Linked DNA regions of Homo sapiens: regions 1, 2, 3, 5, 6 and 7 are each linked to region 4. The links are contacts of gene promoters, found by promoter capture Hi-C in blood cells and fetal thymus (Javierre and others, 2016). All regions are on one chromosome and are shown on one strand. Each heading gives the region's core, a stretch centred on a gene start or on the middle of the fragment in contact. The rest is flanking DNA. Distances are from core to core; before and after follow the strand shown. Region 1 overlaps PDS5B (PDS5 cohesin associated factor B). Region 2 overlaps PDS5B (PDS5 cohesin associated factor B). Region 3 has its middle 120 kb from the start of LINC00423. Region 4 holds the start of RFC3 (replication factor C subunit 3). Region 5 overlaps PDS5B (PDS5 cohesin associated factor B). Region 6 overlaps PDS5B (PDS5 cohesin associated factor B). Region 7 overlaps PDS5B (PDS5 cohesin associated factor B).

The links. The method cuts DNA at HindIII sites, captures the fragments that hold promoters and counts their contacts. A CHiCAGO score of 5 or more calls a contact.
Region 1: a fragment that was not itself captured here is called in contact with the fragment with the promoter of RFC3 in region 4 in 5 of 17 cell types (activated CD4 T cells, naive CD4 T cells, total CD4 T cells and 2 more); the score reaches 7.4 in activated CD4 T cells.
Region 2: a fragment that was not itself captured here is called in contact with the fragment with the promoter of RFC3 in region 4 in 1 of 17 cell types (total CD4 T cells); the score reaches 5.1 in total CD4 T cells.
Region 3: a contact is called between a fragment that was not itself captured here and the fragment with the promoter of RFC3 in region 4, in 1 of 17 cell types (naive CD8 T cells). The highest score is 5.1, in naive CD8 T cells.
Region 5: a contact is called between a fragment that was not itself captured here and the fragment with the promoter of RFC3 in region 4, in 1 of 17 cell types (naive CD8 T cells). The highest score is 6.5, in naive CD8 T cells.
Region 6: a contact is called between a fragment that was not itself captured here and the fragment with the promoter of RFC3 in region 4, in 7 of 17 cell types (fetal thymus, naive CD8 T cells, total CD4 T cells and 4 more). The highest score is 8.5, in fetal thymus.
Region 7: a fragment that was not itself captured here is called in contact with the fragment with the promoter of RFC3 in region 4 in 1 of 17 cell types (naive CD4 T cells); the score reaches 5.1 in naive CD4 T cells.

Annotation. Positions count from the first base shown.
Region 1 is chr13:32,734,361-32,737,573 of GRCh38, forward strand. PDS5B (PDS5 cohesin associated factor B) reads left to right here. Exons shown (of 35, transcript NM_015032.4): 21 at 812-970. Among named protein-coding and RNA genes, the nearest start is that of PDS5B, 150 kb to the left of the region's middle. The HindIII fragment of the contact is 2,769 bases long and covers 164-2,932 here.
Region 2 is chr13:32,750,315-32,753,396 of GRCh38, forward strand. PDS5B (PDS5 cohesin associated factor B) reads left to right here. Exons shown (of 35, transcript NM_015032.4): 25 at 3,018-3,082. Among named protein-coding and RNA genes, the nearest start is that of LINC00423, 160 kb to the right of the region's middle. RefSeq lists a silencer at 17-311. The HindIII fragment of the contact is 4,555 bases long and covers 1-3,082 here.
Region 3 is chr13:32,791,319-32,794,400 of GRCh38, forward strand. No RefSeq gene overlaps it. Among named protein-coding and RNA genes, the nearest start is that of LINC00423, 120 kb to the right of the region's middle. The HindIII fragment of the contact is 3,212 bases long and covers 1-2,875 here.
Region 4 is chr13:33,816,526-33,819,528 of GRCh38, forward strand. It overlaps RFC3 (replication factor C subunit 3), which reads left to right and starts at 1,624. Exons shown (of 9, transcript NM_002915.4): 1 at 1,624-1,740. The coding sequence starts at 1,654. The HindIII fragment of the contact is 2,489 bases long and covers 1,179-3,003 here.
Region 5 is chr13:32,628,880-32,632,232 of GRCh38, forward strand. All of the region lies in intron 1 of PDS5B (PDS5 cohesin associated factor B), which reads left to right. Among named protein-coding and RNA genes, the nearest start is that of PDS5B, 44 kb to the left of the region's middle. The HindIII fragment of the contact is 2,310 bases long and covers 704-3,013 here.
Region 6 is chr13:32,645,292-32,648,416 of GRCh38, forward strand. All of the region lies in intron 1 of PDS5B (PDS5 cohesin associated factor B), which reads left to right. Among named protein-coding and RNA genes, the nearest start is that of PDS5B, 60 kb to the left of the region's middle. RefSeq lists an enhancer at 880-989. The HindIII fragment of the contact is 2,822 bases long and covers 421-3,125 here.
Region 7 is chr13:32,706,866-32,709,879 of GRCh38, forward strand. It overlaps PDS5B (PDS5 cohesin associated factor B), which reads left to right. Exons shown (of 35, transcript NM_015032.4): 18 at 69-174. Among named protein-coding and RNA genes, the nearest start is that of PDS5B, 120 kb to the left of the region's middle. The HindIII fragment of the contact is 1,063 bases long and covers 881-1,943 here.

The sequences.
Region 1 (3,213 bases), core at 298-2,797, 1.1 Mb before region 4:
ATATGAGTATTTGAAGAGCTTGTTCATTCTTTTATCATGGTAAAATGCATATTAATGGTTGGGTTTCCTATCAGAATAACAAAAAATCATTTTATTTGTTATGGTATTTAATATTTGGTGCTATAATGAAGATCCCCAAATTCAAGTGACTAGATGTAGTAAAAGCTTATTTCTTGCTTCTGAAAAGTCTAGTGGGTGTTTGAATGACCCTCTAATCAGTGGCTTAGGGACACAGACTCATTCTGATTAGTGACTTCTCTTTAAATCCCACTGGATCCTTGGCATCAAGCCAGCCAGTGAGTAGAGCCTGTGGAGAAGACATATTGCTCATACCTACCTCAGTGCATATGTGGCATACTTCATTTTACTCCCACTCTCTTGACCAGAACTCATTCATATATCCTCACTTAACTGCACAGGAAGCTGCAAGTAGAGTCATCCTTATGCCCAGGAAATTGAAGTGGATATTGGTGAGCCCTAGCAGTCTCTAACACATTCATGTATATGGTCATAAACTATATGCTATGAAGTCTGTGTCGAAATGTTTCTTTACCCTACCTCTAAACTGAATTGGGCAAAACTGAAAATGTTTGAACCTGATGCCTTCTGGACATAGATAACCTATAGAAGTCTAAATGTAATCTTGAGTTACTACTTATACTATGTATATTTATTGAAATTTTTGTAGTTTTTATAATTTGAATTACAAAATAAATTACAAAATAAATTTTGTAATTTGAAAATGAAATATGTAAACAGTTTATTTGTATATGTGTAGAGTTGAAATATATTTTCCTCCCCTCATTTTCAGCCTCTGCATAAGAGCCTAGATCCAAGCAACCTGGAACATCTCATAACACCATTGGTTACTATTGGTCATATTGCTCTCCTTGCACCTGATCAATTTGCTGCTCCTTTGAAATCTTTGGTAGCTACTTTCATTGTGAAAGATCTTCTCATGAATGATCGGGTAATTTATATTTTTTAGATTCATGTTCTTTGTAATGTTAACTTTTGCAATTTTATCCAACAAGGAAAGAAGTGAAATGATATCAATAATACTTCCATTTGACTGCCTTGATTTTAGGTTTTCCTGTTTAAAAAAAATAAGCCTTGTCTCCATTATAAGCAAAACCATCTTGAAACATCTTTTTAGTTGAGAATAGGCATATGACCTCAAATACATTCCTTGATAAATATAAAATATAACCTGATGCTATCTATTTCAGATTTACAGGGGTTTAATTTTTGACAGGACATCTATTTTTAAAAATATGCAGATTGGTAAACCAGCTCATAGTATGGTTGTCATGATTATAGTTTTACCTTTTTCTATATAAACTTGTTCTTTTCCCTACATTGGGAGAGAACGAAAAAACATTGGGAGAGGAAATAATGATTTTGTTAGTCTCCAGTTATTTTGTATCTGCTGTGACAGCACTGTACTAGGTTCTCTGGAGAATTAAAAGAAACATGAGATAAAGTTTTTCCTCCAAAAAGTAAACATAATATAAGTAGTGATATCTGGGTTAATCTGCCACCTGATTTTTTGTTTTCAGTTTGTCCTGTCAGTTGTGTATTTTTCTCTTTTCTTATTTTTGATTAAATATTTTTATTTCATTTTACCAGTCTGTTTTACATTTTGCTATTATTTTAGTAGTTTTCCTAGAAATTACAACATGGACTTTGGACTTATTAAAGGCCAGTGTCAGTTGGTCTGCTTTGAACTTTCAGTATAGCACAAGGAACTTCAAAATACTTTAATTCCTTTTATTCCTTGGTGCTTTTTTGTGCTCTTGTTCACCCAGTTCTATTACTGCTGTTATTTTATGCAGTTAATGTTTATTTAGATTTGCCAACATATTTTCTCCTTTTGTTTTTCATTCCTTTCTATGTAATGATTTTCTTTCTATCTAAAGAACTACTTTAGTACTTTTTTTTTAGTTTGGATTTCCACTAATGAATTTTCTCAGTTTTTGTTTGTCTGGAAAGATCTTTATTTTACCTTAATTTTTTAAAGGATGCTTTCTTTGGGTTAAGAATTCTAGACTGGTGTATTTTCCCCCATCAGTGATTTGAATATATTATTCTATTTTCCATTTTCTTTTTTCTTGAAGTTTATTGACAGTCTTGTTCCTCTGAAGGTCTTCTGTCTGTTTGCTGTGAATGTTTTTGTCTTTTCTGTTTTCCATTGGTTTCCAGTTTTACTATGATGTGTCTGGGTATGCTTTCCTTTATAGTTATTGTACTTGGGGCTTAGAGCTCTTCTTGTATATATAGCTTAAAGTTTTTTACAAACTTTAAATAATTTTTAGGCATTATCTTTACATATACGATTTCTGTTTCATATTCTCTTTCCTTTCTTACTGCAGTTCTATTAACACACTTTAAACGTACATTGTTTTTTTGCTGTGACCTAGCTGTGTGACACACTTTTGTGTACTTTTCTGCCAGCCTCCTCATGCTTCAGTTTTTGTTTTTTTTCTGACCTATCTTTGAGTTCACTCGCTTCAGTTTTGTCTAGTCGTACCTAAAGCTCATGCTTTGAATTCTTAATTTCACATATATACACATACTTCAATTCTGTAATTCTATAGTTTTTAAACATAGCTCTTTGTTTTGCTGCAGAATTTGCTTGTCATTAAATCCTTGAAAAATCTTAATTATGTGAAGTTTGTATCTGTTAGGCTTATCATCTTGATCTCTTGTAACTTTTGTCTATTCTCAAAATTTTGGTCAAATCTTACCTTGTACATATATTGCTTTTGATTGAGTGATAGACTTTTTGTATGAAAAGTTGTTGAGATAATGTGAGGCTTCAGATGTGGTTATATTCTTCCCAGAGTTTTACTTTTGTTTCTATCAGGCAGTTAAGCTATCGTCAGATCACTTCCATCCAATGAAAATGGAAGTTTGGCTTCAGTTTTGGACAAGCTTATTATTTTTTTCTGGTCACCTTATGTCTAGAGTATATTTGTCTGGGATCCACCCAGAAGTCCAGGTTGTTTAACAAGGCCTTTACTTAATGGGCTCAGGATTCTTAATCTTGTTCTTCTAGCTCTGTGACAGGAAAGCTTTGCTCAACTTCTTATCCCCCTTTCACTTTCAGAATCATTAATCGTCTGTGTGAAAAAACTAATCTCAGTGCCAGACTCAAATCTTTGCTTTCCCTCCTTATTTGAAACTTTGCCCTGCAAATTCTCACTGCTTTGG
Region 2 (3,082 bases), core at 522-3,021, 1.1 Mb before region 4:
ATGAATGGCCTGTTCATTTGTGAATACGCTTGTGATATGTGGATTTTTACTTACCCAGTTTGTAATTGGGTATTTTCATAGTAAATCTATAACGGAGACTCCTCTCCTCTGTGGGACTGATACTGAGGGCGGGGTGAGTTAATGTTAACTTTGTTTCGTGGAGTATGAGGGTAGATAACTTTCTGTGAAAACTAGACTGCTTCTTCCCCTTCCCTCCCTACAGCTAATTCCCCCCTCCTCCCCCCAAAATGGAGTCTTGCTCTGTCACCCAGGCTGGAGTGCAGTGGTGTGATCTCGGCTCACTGTAACCTCTGCCTCCCGGGTTTAAGCGATTCTCCTGCCTCAGCCTCCCAAGTAGCTGGGATTACAGGTGCCTGCCACCACACCTGGCTAATTATTGTATTTTCAGTAGAAACAGGGCTTCACCATGTTGGCCAGGCTGGTCTCGAACTCCTGACCTCAGGTGATCCACTTGCCTTGGCCTCCCAAAGTGTTGGAATTTCAGGCGTGAGCCACTGCGCCCGGCCTCCCTCTGTGTGTGTGTGTGTGTGTGTGTGTGTGTGTGTGTGTGTGTTTTAAACTTTAGGTTCAGGGGTACATGTACAGGTTTGTTATCTAGGTAAATTGTTTGTCACAGAAGTTAGGTGTACAGATTATTTCATCACACAGGTGATAAGCATAGTACCCAAAAGGTAGTTTTTCCATCTTCACCCTCCTACCCTCCACCCTCAAGAAGGCTTTGGTGTCTGTTCTTCTCTTCTTTGTGTTCATGTGTACTCAATGTTTAGCTCCCACTTTCAAGTGAGAACAGCAGTATTTGGTTTTCTGTTCCTTTATTCACTAAAGGTAATGGCCTCCAGCTCCATCCATATTGCTGCAAAAAGCACATGTAGTATTCCATGGTGTATCTGTATCACATTTTCTTTATCCAGTGTACTGTTGATGGACATTTAGATTGATTCTGTGTCTTTGCTGTTGTGAATAGTGCTGCAGTGAACATATACATACATACATGTGCCTTCATGGTAGACATGATTTATAATCCTTTGGGTATATACCCAGTAATGGGATTGCTATGTCAAATGGTAGTCCTGTTTTCAGTTCTTTGAGAAATCACCAACCTGCTTTCCGCAATGGCTAAACTAATTTACATTCTCACCAGCATTGTATTAGTGCTCCCCTTTCTCCACAGTCTCACCAGCATCTATTATTTTTTGGCTTTCTAATAATGGCCGTTCTGACTGGTATGAGATGGTATCTCGTGGTTTTGATTTGCATTTCACTAATGATTAACGATGTTGAACATTTTTTCATATGCTTGTTGTCTGTGTGTATATCTTCTTTTGAAAAGTGTCTATGTCCTTTGCCCACTTTTTAATGGAGTTGTTTGGTTTTTGTTTGTTAATTTATTTAAGTTTCTTAGAGATTCTGGATATTAGACTTTTGTTGGATGCATAGTTTGCAAAAATTTTCTCCCATTCTGTAGTTTGTCTGTTTACTCTGTTGATGGTTTGTTTCTTTTGCTGTGCAGAAGCTCTTTAGTTTAGACTACTTCTGTAAAACTAGATGTTTGGTATTTTGATAAACTGAAATTTAAATGAAATGAAAGAAGATTTTAAAATAAGGATTTAAAGATAAGGATGAGATGTTATGACCAAGATTTTTGGGGAAGATAAACTAAATGATCATTCTAGATGAAGAAATTGTTACAATAGTAAGAAACACACCATACCTTATTTAATTGGTGGAGTGTAAGGTGTAATCATGAAGGTCTTTGTAGGTCATATAGAAAAGTTTGAACTTTTCCCTGTGCAGTAGTCTCCCCTATCTTTGGTTTTGCTTTTCCACAGTAAGATATTTTAAGAACAAGGGAGACCACATTCACATAACATTTATTATATAGTATATTGTTATACTTGTTCTATCTTATTAGTTACTGTTAATTTCTTGCTGTGCCTAATTTATAAATTAAACTTTATCATAGGTATCTATATATAGAAAAACGCGTAATATATATAGGATTTGGTACTATCCTCAGTTTCAGGCATCCACTGTGGGTCTTGGAATGTATCCTCTACCTCCACTGATAAGGGGGAGCTAGTGTCGTTCAGAAAAACTTCTGATCATCTATGTGCCAGGTTTTTTGTTAGGCTTAGAGAGATAAAAACATAATTCTTTTCTTCAAGGAACAAGTACTGGTGGGTAAGACAGACATTTAAACCAATCATTTTAATACTTTATACTAAATGCTATGCTGGAGATAAGTACAGAATGCTAAGAGCACAGAGGTGGGTGCTGGATACAGATTACACACTGCGTTCTGTCTGATATATAAGCTATCTTTAAGGATAAGTAGGAGTTAGCTAGGAGACTAGGGGTGGGTAGTTTAGGAGAGGGGAGTAGTATGAGTTAAGCAGGCACACGGGTAATAATCAGCCTGGTTTAAGTATAGAAGTCAAAATAATTTGGTGTTTCTGAAATGGATTAGTAATCCTTACCTTCAGAGTTGTGCTTTTTATTTCTTTATTAAGAGACAGGGTCTTGCTATGTCTGCCTTAGCCTCCCGAGTAGTTGGGACTACAGGTGTGTACCACCATGCCCAGCTAGAGTTGTACATTTTAATATGAATAGTTTTTTTCAGTGACAGAACTAAAATGTATAAATTGGGCAGTTTTATCTTGCCCAGTAAATGAAAAAGATATATATGAGATGGTGTTTAAGCCTTAATTTTTGTATCTTATTTAAGTTAGGGCAGATTTATATTTACTAGTTTTTTTCTGTTTTAAAAGTATGTTTGTTTTCTAACACATCTAACTGGTACTTATTAGGGCCCAGATGAATATTGCAGCTTCAAAATGAACTTTAGTCACAACATCTCACTCTTGTGAGCAGTGAAGCAATTATTGTAGATAAACTTGCTACTGTTTACTCTTTACTTAAAATAGCAAATTTTATATCTGAAGTTGTTACTCTTTGCTGCCATTTGAATAATATCTGGAATAATTGTGTCTTTACAGGATGAATGCTATCAAGTAAGACAAGTGTTTGCCCAGAAACTTCACAAAGGCCTTTCCCGTTTACG
Region 3 (3,082 bases), core at 20-2,519, 1.0 Mb before region 4:
AGAAGCCAGACTGCAGTGGGGTGAGCAAATGTGAGTTCAGGAAGTGGAGATAGTGGAGGCTGATTTGGAGAAGTCTGGATGAGGAGGAACAAGGAGATGCCTTTTTTTTTTTTTTTTAAGGATAAACTATACTTGAACATTTTTTCCCATTAAACATACATGTATTGGGGTACCTGCCCACAGCCTTTTTAATCTGCTGTGGCACATTGCCTCTACTGAGTTGCATGATCTTGTCTTCCCTCTGATCCTACCTCACAGAGAAGAGTAGCCCGTTCACAATGACCTATGTATTGTGTGACCTGTTTGTATTTTCTTGTAGGAATTTGAATTAAAAGACACAGACAAGTTTCCAGTGAGTCATGGAGAGTAAATAAAAAATCCACGGGCTACTCTGGGCCATATGTGAGAGGAATTTAAGGGAAAGCCTGCTGCAGGACAAAGGTGGGTGAGCAGATGTGTGGAAAGAAGAAGAGAAGTCCCTAGAGATTACGTGAGAAAGAGGTGGCCTCGATCTGAATCCACCCCTGCACCTTCTGAGCACTGTGGCCTTGCAGTAACCACCTCCCCACTTCCTGTTATTCAAACTGGTTTGAAGGGATTTCACTTTCTCCCAGATGAAAGGACCCTGACTGGAGCAGTCTTGCTCGGACCTCTTCATCTTCAGCCCCTGTTTGTTCAGATGTGTTGTACAGATAAATACCAGAGTGTGTGAAGATGCTGTCTTACCAGGTTATTCTTTTCTCTTTTTAGAGACAAGGTCTTGCTCTGTCACCCAGGCTGGAGTGCAGAGGCGCGATCACAGCTCAGTGCAGCCTTGCACTCCCGGGCTCAAGCAATCCTCCCACCTCCATCTCCCAAGTAGCTGGGACTACAGGTGTGTGCCACCACACCTGGCTAATTTTTCAGTACTTTTTGTAGAGACTAGGTCTCACTATGTTGCCCAGGCTGTTCTCGAACTCCTGGACTCAAGCAGTCCTGCCTCAGCTTCCCAAAGTGTTGGGATTACAGGTGTGAGCCACCCTCCCTGACCTCCACCAAGCTATTGTTCTCCCGCTCACAGCTGTCTACTACACAATGAAGTATAAAATCAACAAGCCTTTCACAGCCTGCCAGAATATGGCTTCATCCTACTTTCCAAACTTTTTCATGGTATTTTCTGTTAACTTTACTTCTGCCAGACTGACTGTACCTGTCGTTCAACACACTGTATATCTACACCCTTAGTCCTGGCTTACATCATTCTGCTTGTCAGTGATCTAGACCCTTTGTATTCAAAGTGTGGGTCAAGCAGCAGGATGGGCATCACCTGGGAGCTTGTTAAGAATGCAGAATCTCACAGCCCACCCCAGACCTCCTGAGAATCTGCTTTTCAGTAAGATCCCTGGATAATTGAAATTCACCTTAAAACTTGAGAAGCATTGGTCTCTGCTGCCTGTGCAAATATCCCTTCTGCTTTAAGTCCTAGCCTAGGGGTTGTTTGTCCCATTATATTTTTTTCTGACCATATAGTGATAGTGGTTCGCTTCAACCGGAATTCCTATAGCACCATGAGAAACGAATAGTAATAGTTTAATTGAGTACTTGCTGTGAACTGATCACTAGAGTAAGCATTTTATATGTGTCGCTTAATTACTCTTTACAACAATCCTATGAGGTATGTTTATCACCATTTTACGGATAAAGGAACCAAGACTTGGAGAGTAACTTGCCATGTTCACACGGCTTGGGTCAGAGCCAGAATTTGGATTTAGATCTTTCTGATTCTTGAGCCCACAAAGCATACATATCTTTATAGTAACAAGACTGAGAAAACCAGTCACACTAGAGCATATGACTCTAAATGAATACCTCAGAGTATTAACTGTAATGACTTGTCATTATCATCTTGCTAACTTACAGCTATGAAATTATCTGTAGAGGAAATTAACAATCCATTAAAGAAACTCTGATTACTTTATGGCCAACCCATGCATAGCCTATGCCACTTCTTAGTTTTAGTGTTTTCACCATTTTGAGGTGGAGCATCATACAACTTGTCACCTATGCTTCTATAAAACAGAGACTTTTAAACATTTAAAGAATACTATATAAAACTGCCACAGTGCTTTGTACATAGTAAACATGTAACAAATATGTACTGAATTCGTTTGATTCTCACAATTAATTGTGTCATAATCATCCCTGATTCAATCTCTAATAACATATCCAAAACTGAATTCCTGGGCTTTCCACCCGTGCCCACCTCCAAACCCGGTCCAACCTCAGCTTTCCCCATCTCCATCTGTAGCAATTTCATTATTTTAGTTATTCATGCGCAAGCCATGAAGTCGATTCCATTTCCCTCACACATCCTTTCTAATCTGTCAGGAAATCCTGTTGACTCTTCTTGCAAAATATATCCAGGATCTAACCACCTCCACTGCTACTTCCATCCAAGCCACTATTATATCTTACCTGGTTTATCAGTTTGCTAGGGCCACCATAAAAACTACTACAAACTGGATATCTTAACAGAAATTTATTAGCTCACAATTCTGGAGGCCGGAAATTCTGGAGACCAAAATTAAGGTGCTGGTAGCGTTGGTTCCTTCTGAGGGCAGGATTTATTCCAGGTTTCTCTCTGGCTTGTAGATAGCTATCTCCTCCATGCGTCTGTTTATATCATCTTATGTGTGTATCTGTGTTCAAATTTCCCCGTTTTATAAGGACACCAGTCATATTGGATTAAGGCCCACCCTAATGACCTCGTCTTAAAACCTCTGTAAAGACTAACTCCAAATAAGTCACATTCTGAGGTAGTGGGGGTTAAAACTTCAATATATGAATTTGAGTGGGTAGGGGCACATTCAACCCATAACATCAGGATTGTTGCAGAAGCTTCTTACCTGGTTTGTCTACTTCTTCTCTTGTCTCCCAGAGCCCTTTCTCCACACAGCAGCCAGAGTTACCCTTTTAAAATGGAATTCAGGTCCTATGTCTCTTTTGCTTAAAATTCCCCAATGCATCAACATTGGAATGAAAGCCAAGGTCCTTACAGTGGTCTCACAGGCCGTATGACCTGGTCGCCGTCACATCTCTGACT
Region 4 (3,003 bases), core at 374-2,873:
GAGAAAAAAAATCATTTGTAATAAATTTTGCCATAGACATATGAAAAAGCTTCTGAAATTCAAATTTAACTGGACTTCCTGGGTCACCACACTATTTCTCCTTCCTCAGAACCCCCAACAATATTGAAGCACATGTCTTCATGTGCTTCAATGGTAGAGACATGTCTTCACGGTAGAGACCATCAACCACTGCTCCTTATTGAAGTTGTCTGTCATGCCTGTGGTCACTCTTGCCAAATTATTGATCATTCTAGCACTTGGTTCTTCTCTTTATTCCTCTCAGTACTTATTTCCATTATCATTCATTATGATTATGATATACACATAGACCACAATTCAGTATCCCTGCTTCTGATTTCCTTTACCTTCTCATTTCAAACACTTCCTCCATTTCAATTCCAAAGGAGAGAAGCATAAAGAAGATGAAGCTTTTTTGCAATATTAAATAGGGTGGTCAGGGAAGCCTCAGTGAGGAGATAATACTTGAGCCAACATCCTGAAGGAAATGAGGGACCCAACTCTGCTGACTGGAGAAACATAGTCCAGGAAGAGGAAACAGTAATTGCAAAGGCCCTGAGGCAGAAGCCTTCCAGGCTTATTATAGAAAGTTTCTCGAGAACAGGGATTAAATCTTATACTTGGTGGTGTGGATAATACCTTACCTGCAGGAGTAATTCATGTAATATGACGATTCATAGAAGAACATGATAAATTATTGATTAATAAATGAGTAAGAGGCACCTTGGTGAAAGGTTATTAAGTATATTTGGAAATCATTTCCTGCCTGTAAGACCTTGCAATCAAATGGCAGGACTTAGGGTTCTTAATAATACATAAAATAAAAGCATAAATTAAATAAGGAATTAATATTATGTACAATGAGTAAAGTGCATTTTGAGAGGCACTATTTGAAGAGAACTTCAAAAGTTGCATATCAACTTCATATGCAGAATATTTTTCTGAGGGGTTCAGATGCTTCTACACATTTTAATTGGAGGGCTTTCAAATATTCTAGACTTAGAATGCATATTAACCTCGTGTCTTCTCCCCTACAGACCACATTTGGGTAGTTTTTCCATGCTCTTGATTCTTTTGTTTCTAATCCAATAAGAATATTGAGGAATAGAGGTAACAAAGGATAGTGAAGATCAGACATTTTCAAGCGATTCATCCAATGAAGCTTTACTGGGTACCTGCCAAGTGAGTGAAACCCTGAGATGTATATATTCTAGTGCCGAGGACAGAGTTCCACACCTAGCAGATATTTAGTAAATTTTTGTTGAATGAATTAAGTGAATGAAAGAATGAATAAATGAAAGGAACGGTCTTCTCTGAGGTATCTGGATGTGACGCCAAAAGGGTCAGAACCACATTTTCAATTCCGCTTGATAATTTCTAGAATATAATAGACGGTGCGAACAAAGAGAAAATAAATAAAGCAGTGAACTTCAGAACTAGAGGGCATCGACGCGGCAGCTGATTTTGTCTGCACACGGCCCCCGTAGCCTTTCCGTCCAAAATCATTTACGCGGCCGCGACCGGTAGTGACGTCACGAGATTTGGAGCTCGCGGGAAAACTTGTCTCTGCGTTGTGGGGAGGACGCGCGCTCGCGCGGGATTTTCAAGCGTAGGCCCCCGGGAACTCGAGCTGCCATGAGCCTCTGGGTGGACAAGTATCGGCCCTGCTCCTTGGGACGGCTGGACTATCACAAGGAGCAGGCGGCCCAGCTGCGGAACCTGGTGAGTCTGCGGGGGCCGGGAGCGTGGGAGAGGGGAGGCCCCCCGGCTCGGGGTTTCGCGCCCCCCTGAGGAGCAGTGCTTCTCCCGCCCGCATTGGAAGGTGATAAGTGCTATGGAGAAAAATAACACAGGGAAGGGGGAAGAGGTGTGGGAGGCTGGCTTGTATTTTTAAACAAGAAAAGCTCCACTGAGAAGTGGCATCTGAGCCGAGACTTGAAGGAAATTGAAAAGTCATAAATACAGAAATCCGAGCAAAGAGTGGAACAGGTAAGAGGGGACAGCAAGTGCAAAATTCCCGGGCAGGGATGTGCACGGCATGTTCTAAGAACCTCAGGAGGCCGGCGTAGCCGATAGTGGTGAACCAGCGGGAAGGGTAATCGGAGATGGGTGTATGTGTTGGGATGGAGTTGGAGTGCAGACCCAGTCAGTCTCAGAATAAGACGAGAAGCCGTTGGAGCATTTTGAGCGGAGATGACACCATGTGATTTACTTTCTAGCTGGCTTAAGATTTCTCGATGTCATTGTCATTTACAAGTAAAGTGTTGTAAATATGTATTTACTCCAAAGATCGTTTCTAATTCTCAAATAAATTGTATTAGGACGTTCCTGAGATTAGTTTTTTTTTTTTTTTTTTTTTTTTTTGAGACGGAGTTTAGCTGTTGTCGCCCAGGCTGGAATGCAATGGCGCGGTCTCGGCTCACTGCAACCTCCGCCTCACGGGTTCAAGCGATTCTCCTGCCTCAGCCTCCCGAGTAGCTGGGATTACAGGCGCCCGCCACCACGCACAGCTAATTTTTGTATTTTTCAGTAGAGACGGGGTTTCACCACGTTGGCCAGGCTGGTCTCGAACTCCTGACCTCAGGTGATCCGCCTGCCTCGGCCTCCCAAAGTGCTGGGATTACAGGCGTGGGCCACCGTGCGTGGCTGAGATTAGAGCTTTGTGAAAGATCCTCTCCCCTCTATCCTGATGCCTCTTTGTCTGTTGTAGTTGATAAAAGTGCCCAATGGCAATATTTTGTGAGAACGAACTGAATCTTCCAGGGAGTAGAGAGTAAAGAAGGATCTTTAGGAGAATAAAGTGTCTGTGGAAGACATTTATCCACTCCTTTTAAGGAACTCAAATTAATATATGATGCTGATGGAAACGTTTTTGCCCAATACCCTGGTTTTCCCTTCCGACCTTTCTTAGATTTACAGATACTATTTAATTAAGTGCGTCTTAAAAATAAGAAATAATAAGAAAAGATTGTACACGTAAAAATC
Region 5 (3,353 bases), core at 609-3,108, 1.2 Mb before region 4:
GTTTTAAACAGTGCTAAGATAAATATTCTAGTACATTTATATTGACATTTTTATTCCTGTGAGAATTGGAAGAGAAGTATTGCTGGGTTGAAGGGAATGTGTCATTAAAATTTAATAGGTATTAACACAAATCTTTTCAGAAAGGCTGTAATAATTCACATTTCCAGTAACATCTGACAGATCACCGGTTTTCAAATTTTTCTCTGTGAACTTTCTTGACAAGAGAAGTTGGGGGTATTGGAATACCCATCACTCAATTCAGCCAGAGCAGCTCTCTTTTAACCTATTTGATATATTGCACATTGTTATAATGTTTTGGTTAGAAGAGTTTGTTTCATGATTAAAATAAGTTTGAAGAATCATTGCTCCGAGTTGTTCGATTTTTTTTTTTTAACCTTTTCTTTTTTTTCTAGGTCAAACCAGACATTGAGATCACTGGCTTTTTGGATACCTTGTGTTGGCTGCATTTCTTGTATATTTGGATACCGAGTGTTGGCTACATTGGATACCTTGTGTTGGCTACAATTCTTGTAGAATGTTTTCTACTGAATCATACTTTAAGTACTTTGAATTGTACTTTGGCTTGCATTGAGGGATAAAAAGGGGTGGTTAAAACTCACTTCTGTGTTTATCCTTGTTGGAGTTATCCATTACATTACTCACTGACCCATTAGGTTTCAGCGAGGATGCAGATGTCACATAAAGCTTCACTTCTCCTCAATAGCTCTTAGACAATGTTTATCTTATGGTTGATATTTCTTATTCATCTTATGCCCTTTGATTTATTGGTTTTGTACCTTGCTTACAGGGCTTTTATAGTTTATTTTTGAAATAAACCAAGAAGTTGAGTGTGCCTCTGTGGCCATTTCCAGCCATATAACCATGTAAGCAGGTATGATGTAGTTCTAATTCTGCCATTTGGGAACTTTCTGATCTTGGGCAAAATCAGCGAATTTCTCTTGTCCCAGTTTTCTTCATTTGTTAAAAAATATGGATGATAATAAAATCAGAGTTGATGATTTTCCAAAAACATCTTTCAGCAAATTCAGTGACTAGTTTATAGGCTTTTAATGGGTTACTTAATGAAAGCCAAAAAGAAAAGAAAGAAGATACCCAATTGCATTCAACTAACTGAAAGTGAATGTAGGGGCCAAGACAAGTATAGCTCAAATTTGGAGTTTCCAGGTATTGTTCTTCACATCCTTGAGATATTAGAAGCAGTGTTCCTTAACTTTCTTTTTTGACGATAGATGTTAGAGAATACACCACAAGCTCTGCTCCATCTCCCCAGAAGAATGTACATTATCACATGCATGCAAACTCTGTATACTCTTTTAGATGACTATAGATGGTTCATAGACCTCCTGAAGACCATTTATGGGTTTCCTATGTGGAATCTGAGTGTAAGAACAGACCTAGAGCAGTAGTTCTCAGTGTGGGGTGATTTTGCCCTGCAGGGGACACTTGGCAATGTCTGGAGACATTTTTGGTTGTCACAACTGGGGATGGTGATGGTGTGCATGCCCTCCTCATATCTAGTGAGTAGAGCCCAGGGATGCTGCTGAACATTGTACAATGCACAGGTGCACCCTGACCTCCACTTGCAATAAAGAATTTTTGGCAAAAAACGTGAGAGTGCTGAGGTTGAGAAGCCCTGATGTAGAGGAAGTGATGAATGGGATTTCTTTAAAAAATCCTTCAGAAATATAATTGTTCTCTGGTCTTTTTTGATAGTAGTTGGGTAGTAGATAGTGCAAGGTTAAAATCTCTGAGCCTCACTCTGTCTTGAGTATTCTTCCCTCAGGTATTTGCATGGTTTATCATCATTCTTTTTCAGGTTTCCACTCAAATGTCACCTTGTCATAGAGTCCTTTCCAGTCTTTGCAAGCTAAAACAGTTCTCTTCCTTACTTTTTTTTTTTTTTTCAGACGGAGTCTCACTTCTGTCCAGGCTGGAGTGCAGTGGCGCCATCTCGGCTTACTGTAACCTCCGCCTCCTGGATTCAAGTCATTCTCCTGCCTCAGCCTCCCGAGTAGCTGAGATTACAGGCATGCACCACCATGGCCGGATAATTTTTGTATTTTTTCTTTTTTTGGTGGAGACAGGGTTTCACCATGTTGGCCAGGCTGGTCTCGAACTCCTGTCTCAAGTGATCCACCTGCCTTGGCCTTCCAAAGTGTTGGGATTACAGGCATGAGCCACCACACCTGGCCATCTCTATTGATTCTTTTTTTCTTTCTTTTTTTTTTTTTTTGAGATGGGGTCTCACTCTGTTGCTTGGGCTGGGGTGCAGTGGTGGGATCGTGGCTCACTGTAGCCTCGACATCCCTAGGCTTAGGTGATCCTCTCACCTCAGCCTCCCAGTTAGTTGGGACTAATTTTTTTGTATTTTTTGTAGTGGTGGCGTTTCACCATGTTGCCCAGGCTGGTCTCAAACTCCTGGGCTCAAGCAGTCCACCTGCCTTGACCTCCCAAAGTGTTAGGATTACAGGCGTGAGCCGTGGCGCTCGGCCCCTATTTTTCTTAACATTTCACATTATCTAACACATACATTGACATTTGTTGTCTGTTTTCCTTCAACTTTAATATAAGCTATGCCACGAGAACAATAATCTTTGGCTTTCTCCTACAGTTATATTCCCCAGTCAACAGTACCTGGGATATAATAGGTGCTCAATAAATATTTGTTGTTGAAAGAATGAATGATCTGAGTCTGTATTGTGGCAAGTTTGATTGTATTGTTTTGGCAGAGCCCAATGTTTTAGAGATCAAAGGTGCAGTAAAGTTGACAGTTTTTTGTGAAAATTAGGAGTTCTTACCTAAGTTGTCAGTTGGATATAGTATAGGCCAGGAATATGTATCTGAAGGCAAAGCCAGGATTTAAGGGAAAAAAAAGTTCTTTGGCTTCTTTACAACATGAATTGAGCACCTGAAGTTGTGTTCTAAACTGTTTTCTAAACTTGTCTGACCATAGGAATTGTCTGAGACATTCCTTAAAAACGGCAGAATCTGAAGCTTCTCCCCACACCTCCTGAATCAAAATTTCTAGAGGAGGAACCAGGATATTCTTATTAAAAACAAAGAGGGAAAGAATATCTTCAACAGATGACACTGGGACAACTGGATTTCCACATGCAAAAGAATTAAGTTGGACCTCTCCTTCACATAGTAGATAAAAATGAGCTCAAAATGATCAATGATGTAAATGTAAGATTTAAGCCTGTATACTTTTAGAAGAAAATATGGGAGTAGAATTTTATGAACCTGAATTTATTAGCACAAACAATAAAAAATATATATTGGACTTTATAAAAATTAAAAACTTTTCTGCATCAAAGGACATAAGAAAATGA
Region 6 (3,125 bases), core at 582-3,081, 1.2 Mb before region 4:
TCTCATTGGGTTTTGTTGTCAGAGTTATGCTAATTAGTTGCTTAAAACTAGTTGGGAAGGATTCCCTTGTTTTTCATTTCTTGGAACTATTTGTATGACATGGGAAATATTTCTTCCTTTATTTGACAGGACTCACTAGTAAAGCCATCTAGACTTGGATATTTTTCCTTGTGGAAAGATCTGTTAATGATTGATTTTGTTTCTTAATCATTTTTTTCTTTCTTGAGTTAGTTTTGGTAATAAGATGTAGTTTCTCAGCTTTATCTACATTTTCAAATGTTATATTATCAAATTTATAAGATTGACCTGTGATTTTTGACTTTGTTGATCCTACGCTTGTTTTCTTTTGATTCATTGATTATTAAGAAGTGCTTTAAAAAATGTAAATGTCTGGAGCTTTTCTTGTTATCTGTTTTGTTAAGCTTTTTGTTGAAGTATAACATACATTCAGGAAAGTGTAAAACTTATGTCTTTAGCTCTATATGACTTCACACAAAGTGAAAATACTTGTGTAACTAGCATCTTAGAAGTATCTTTTCACCCCTTTTTCCGTTAACATTTGTCTCCCAAAACATCACTGTCCTGACTTTTACTGTCATAGATTAGGTTTCTCTGTTTTCGAGCTTATAAATGTAATCATACTCTTATGTAGTGTTTTGTGTCTGGCTTCTTTCACTTTGATGTGTGTGTGTGGGTGTGTGGGTGTGTGGTGTGTGGTGTGTGGTGTGTGTTGAGACAAGGTCCACTCTGTCATTCAGGCTTGAGTGCAGTGGTGTGATCATGGCTTGCTGTGGCTTTGACTTCCTGGGCTTAAGCAGGACTTCCACCTCAGCTTCCCGGGTAGCTGGGACCACAGGTGCACACCACTATGCTTGGCTAATTTATTTTTATTTTTTGTAGAGATGAGGTCTCACTGTATTGCCCAGGCTGGTCTTGAACTCCTGGGCTCAAGTGATCCACCTGCCTTAGCCTTCCCAGATGCTGGGATTACAGATGTGAACCATCATGCCCATCCAGATGTTTGTAATGTTAATCCATATTATTGTGTGAGGCAATGATTTATTCTCTCATGGCTGTGTTTTTTTTTTTTTTTTTTTTTTTGCCCCCATTGTATGACTATACTACAAATTGCTATTCATTCTAGTGTTGATGGTCATTTGTGTTTTCTGTTTTGGCAACTGAATGGTATTGCTGTGAACATTTTTTTATATGTCTTACGGTGGACAAACTATACGTTTCTATTGAGTAAATACCACAGAGTGAATCTGGGGCCTATTTATCTTTTTTTTTTTTAACTTGATATTTAGCTTAACGGGTTTTAGTGTTTGCATGACATAATTTTCCATCCTTTTACTTTCAGCATGTATCCACTTTTTTCATTGTCTTTTAAGGTGTTTATGTTGAAATTTAAAAATCTTTTCTTTTAACCTGATTGTGTATATTACATACACATATAGTACTTAGTATGTGCTAAGCAATGTTGTAGGTACTTTATATATAAATACTTACACCTCTTAGTTTTCATTTGGCTAATTTGCCCTTATTTTACTCTGCACTTAAAAATTATACTCCTTGGTTGTAAACTTCTAGATTTGCAGTTATATTCTTTCTCTGCTTTGAAGATAACATTTTGCTGTCTTCTGGCTTATGTTGTTGCTGTTGAGAAGTCACCTGTTAGTTTAAATGCTATTCCTTTCAAGGTACTGTGTGTGCTCTAAATTTTGTTTGTTTTCTGGAATTATTATTATTTTAAATTTAACCCTGTTTGGCTTACTGAATTTGTAGGTTGGTATTTTATGATATTCTCTGTAGGTATTTGGCCTCTGCTTCAATCTAGTCCTTCTGGTACTCTCATGAATCCCATGAGTGAATCTCTCATTCTTCTCTCTCTATAACTTCCATGAATTGTAGGCTACATTTAGGCCTTTCTATCCTTATGTATTTCAGGTGTATGTTTCACTGTGTTGCACTCCGGATAATTTCTTATGACCTTTCTTTCACTTCATTCTTTCTTTTTTGAGACAGGTGGAATGCAGTGGCGCAATCTCAGCTCACTGCAACCTCTACCTCCTGGGTTCAAGCAGCTCCCCTACTGCAGCCTCCCGAGTATCTGGGACTACAGGGGTGTGCCACCACACCTGGCTGATTTTTGTATTTTTTGTAGAGATGGGATTTTGGTATGTTGCCCAGGCTGTTCTTAAACTTTGGAGCTCAAAGTTTAAGCTCAAAAGGCCTGCCTTGGCCTCCCAAATGTGCTGGGATTACAGGCGTGAGCAATCCCACCTGGCCTTTAATGGTTTTTCGTATCTGCGAATACATTGACCTGTTGAATTTTCAATTTCAGTAATTGTATTTTTTCATTTTTAGAAGTTCTATTTAAAAAAAATCTTCTAGTTTAGTCTTTATAATTTTTTTTGTTTCCTGTAGATATTTTTGGAATTGTCTTTTATTTCTTTAAGATTATAGTAGTTTTACAGTCTTTGATAGACACAAAAATTGTGTCTGTTTTTGTTGTGTGGTATTTCTGCTGGTTCTCCCTCATAGTTGCTTGGTTATTTTTGACTTGATACTTGCTCATTGTTCTAGAAACATCATAGTGGGGATTCTTTGATACTTAGGATGAAGGCACCCTTCTCTAGGCAGGACTTGGATTTACTTATGTTAGGTGCTTGGGGCTGTTATTAACCAGGGGTCTGTGAGTTCATGTTTTGAGATTCTCTGGGCCACTTAGGTCATGTCAGCCCCAGCAAGTGTGCAGGCCCATGGCCAAAACTAATTACCTGTTCCTTCCCTGTATTCATGTTGCCTTTCTCTGTTTAGCACCAAGGCAGCCTTCTCAGCGGTTCCCTCTAGGGGGTGGGGCTGGGGAAAAGAGGTGTTCATTTCTAGTTTACCCTCTCCTTTGCAGGTATATCTTCTTTGGGTAGGGTGGTGGCCTACATTAATGTCAGGAGAGTTTCCTATTTGACTGTCTGCCTTGATATGTTCAGATTTACTTCTGTTCCCCTTGCCCTATAAGACCATCAAAACTGAATCCCACATTTGTCAGAAATGAAAAATGCTTTCAGAGTATAAGTAGCTATAATGTCCCAGTGTTCCCACTTACTTCCCTGGATTCCTATTTT
Region 7 (3,014 bases), core at 162-2,661, 1.1 Mb before region 4:
CACAGGATTATTTTTCTTAGACATTGCTAGTAACATTTGAAAAAATGACTTTTTTGGTCATATTTTAGTGCTCTTATTAAACAAGTGAACAAATCAATAGATGGAACAGCAGATGATGAAGATGAGGGTGTTCCAACTGATCAAGCCATCAGAGCAGGTCTTGAACTGCTTAAGGTAAGTATCTATTTAAAATTAAGTGCCTAATTAGATATCTGTTTAACATATACAGTTTATATTATTTGTTCTTGATGTTTTCTTCTTAAGTTTGTATAATCCAAAGTAAAATTTTCTCAGTTGTTTTAGATGATTTAGAAGTTGTATATTTATTCTTACATGTAATCTGATTATTTTGGGGTTTAAATGCTGTAATCTAGCCTAGTACTAATTATATTAAAATAGTGGAGTATAATTCAGGGTGTCATTAGTGAGCAAAGAAGGTACAACTCTGCTGTAGAATGAGCCAAATTCTTTCTAAAACTCTTATTTTTTTTTGTTTCATAAAATATTCTGTCTTTTACTGATTGTAAAAATATTAATTCATTATTGACAACTTTAGAATATATAAAATTATAAAAAACATAGGTTGATCATACATAAACATTAGTTTCTTTTGTTTCCTTTTAATCTTCAACAAATGCATAGTTGGGATCATTGAGATCAAACTGAATATACAATTTTGTATCCTTAACTATTTTCCCTTATTAAAGTATAAGCATTTTTCTCGGTGTTTTTCAAGAGTTTTTTTTTTTAAGAGTGTCTAAAGCAGATCTGGTTTTTGGCTGTCATCTAGTAGCTGTCTGCCTTTGACCACATTACTTGCCTCATTTCCTCATATGAAATCGAGATAATAATAAAGTACTTGTCTTGCAAAGGACGTTAAAGCTTGTACATGAATTTCTTAGCACCATGCCTAGCTCATAGTAAAAATAATAATAAACATTTTTGAAATGGTGATTAGCCCATATTTGGGGCATCATACTATCCTACCGAGGTAGGAGGCAGGACTGGACTCCAGAGGCGGAGCTCAGATACAGGACCAAATTGAGGACTAGCTAAAACAAGGGCGAGATAGAAGCAGCTTTCCAGAAGACATGCCCACCAATGTGCCTTGTCAGTTTACCATTGCTATGGCAATACCCCGGAGTTACTGTCCCTTTCCTTGGCAATGACCTGATGACCCAAAAGCTACTCCCCGTTCCCTAGGAATTTCTGCATAAACTGCCCCCTTAGTCTGTATATAATTAAAAGTAGGTATAAATATTACTGTAAAACTGCCCTGAGCTACAACTCTCTGCACCCTACCTATGGGGTAGTACTGTTCTGCAGAAGCAGTCATAGAGGTGTATGTAACACCTCCGGAGCAGTAAGACTGCTGCTTCAGTAAAGCTATTTTCTTCTGCCCTATCACTGGCTTGCCCTTGAATTCTTTCCTTGGCAAAGCCAAGAATCCTTGCGGGCTAATCCTCACTTTGGGACTCTCCTTTCTCTGTATCACTAGTATTTTCCTATTGTTGAATATTTTGATTTTTCTACTTTTATTCTTACAAACAACACTAAGGTGAATGTTTCTATGTAAGATCTCTTGGTAATATCTTATTTTTTAGAAAACTGGGAGAGCATTACTGAGTTAAAGAGAGTGACCACTTTCAAAATTCTTGGAGCAATATATATTTAAATTGCTGTACAGGGAAATTTTACCGATATATAATCCCATCAGTAGTATGTGAAGGTACCCGTCTTTTTAACCTTCAAAATATGGAATATAATACATTTTTAAAAGATTTGCGAATCTGATAAGCAAAAATAATGTTTTAATTTGCATATTTAATACTAGTGAGGTCCATATGTTAATCATTTGTGTTTTCCCTATGGTCATTTTTATCCTTTGCTCATACATCTACTGACATCTCTATCTTTTGTTTTTTTTTAAACTGATTTAAATAAGCTTTTTATTTCCTTTGCTTTTTCCTGGGACATATTTGATATATGTACAAACATGTATTCTCTTATATGTAAATTATGAAGTGTAGTAACCAAGTGAATACAAGTGAAAAGTAAATAGAGTGTCAAATTAAATTGAATATTAAAAATACTGTTCAAGTTCCCTGAGTAGTCTTTTTTCTTGCCTGCTTACATCCCCTTACCAGGTATCATTGTCCTGAATTTTGGATTTATTATTCTTTCAATATTCTTTATAGTTTTATCATCTATGTATGTATCTCTAAATAACATGTTGCTTATTTTGATTATTTTAGAAACTTATAAATGTGGCATTATACTTAGTATATTTTTCTGCTGTGTGCTGTTTTTTTTACATTCCACATTTGATTCCTTTTGTTTATTTTATGCTTTAAAAAACCCTATCTTATACAGAGGGTTTTTGTTGTTTTTATTTTTTAAAATCTTAAACACAACCCATCTGAAATTTATTTTGAAAGTGTGTTGTGGGGGCAAGGGGTCTAATTTGATTTTCTCCCAATAGCTATTCAGTTTTCCCAGGACTATTTATTTTCTGTTGACTTCTTTGTAATCTCTTACAATTTATATAATCTAATTTTTTATATATTCTAGAGTCTACTTAACTGCCTTACATTTTCTGTTTCATGATTATTCTAATGTTCGTACCATTGTGATTTGGACATTGGAACTTTATAGACTTTTTTACTGTCTGGTCAGTCTAGTTTATTCTCCTCTTCTTCAGTCTCTGCTAATGATGTTTATTGAGAAGATGAGAGATGTTTTGTTAAATTCTCTCTTCATGTCCCCTTTTCTCCTCTCATTCCCCACCAAAAAACCTGAACAATAATCAAAATCTAAATTATTTTGATTAAAATTATATTAACATGTAATTTAATTTTGGAAGAAATTACTTCATTATATCATACAATCTTCCTACAGAGGAACATTTCTGTTACATAGTTGAGTATGTTTTAAATTTTATTTATAGTGCTCTCAGATTTTGGTCAACATAATTTTTTTTAATAGACTTTGATTTATAGTATTTCTAATATGTA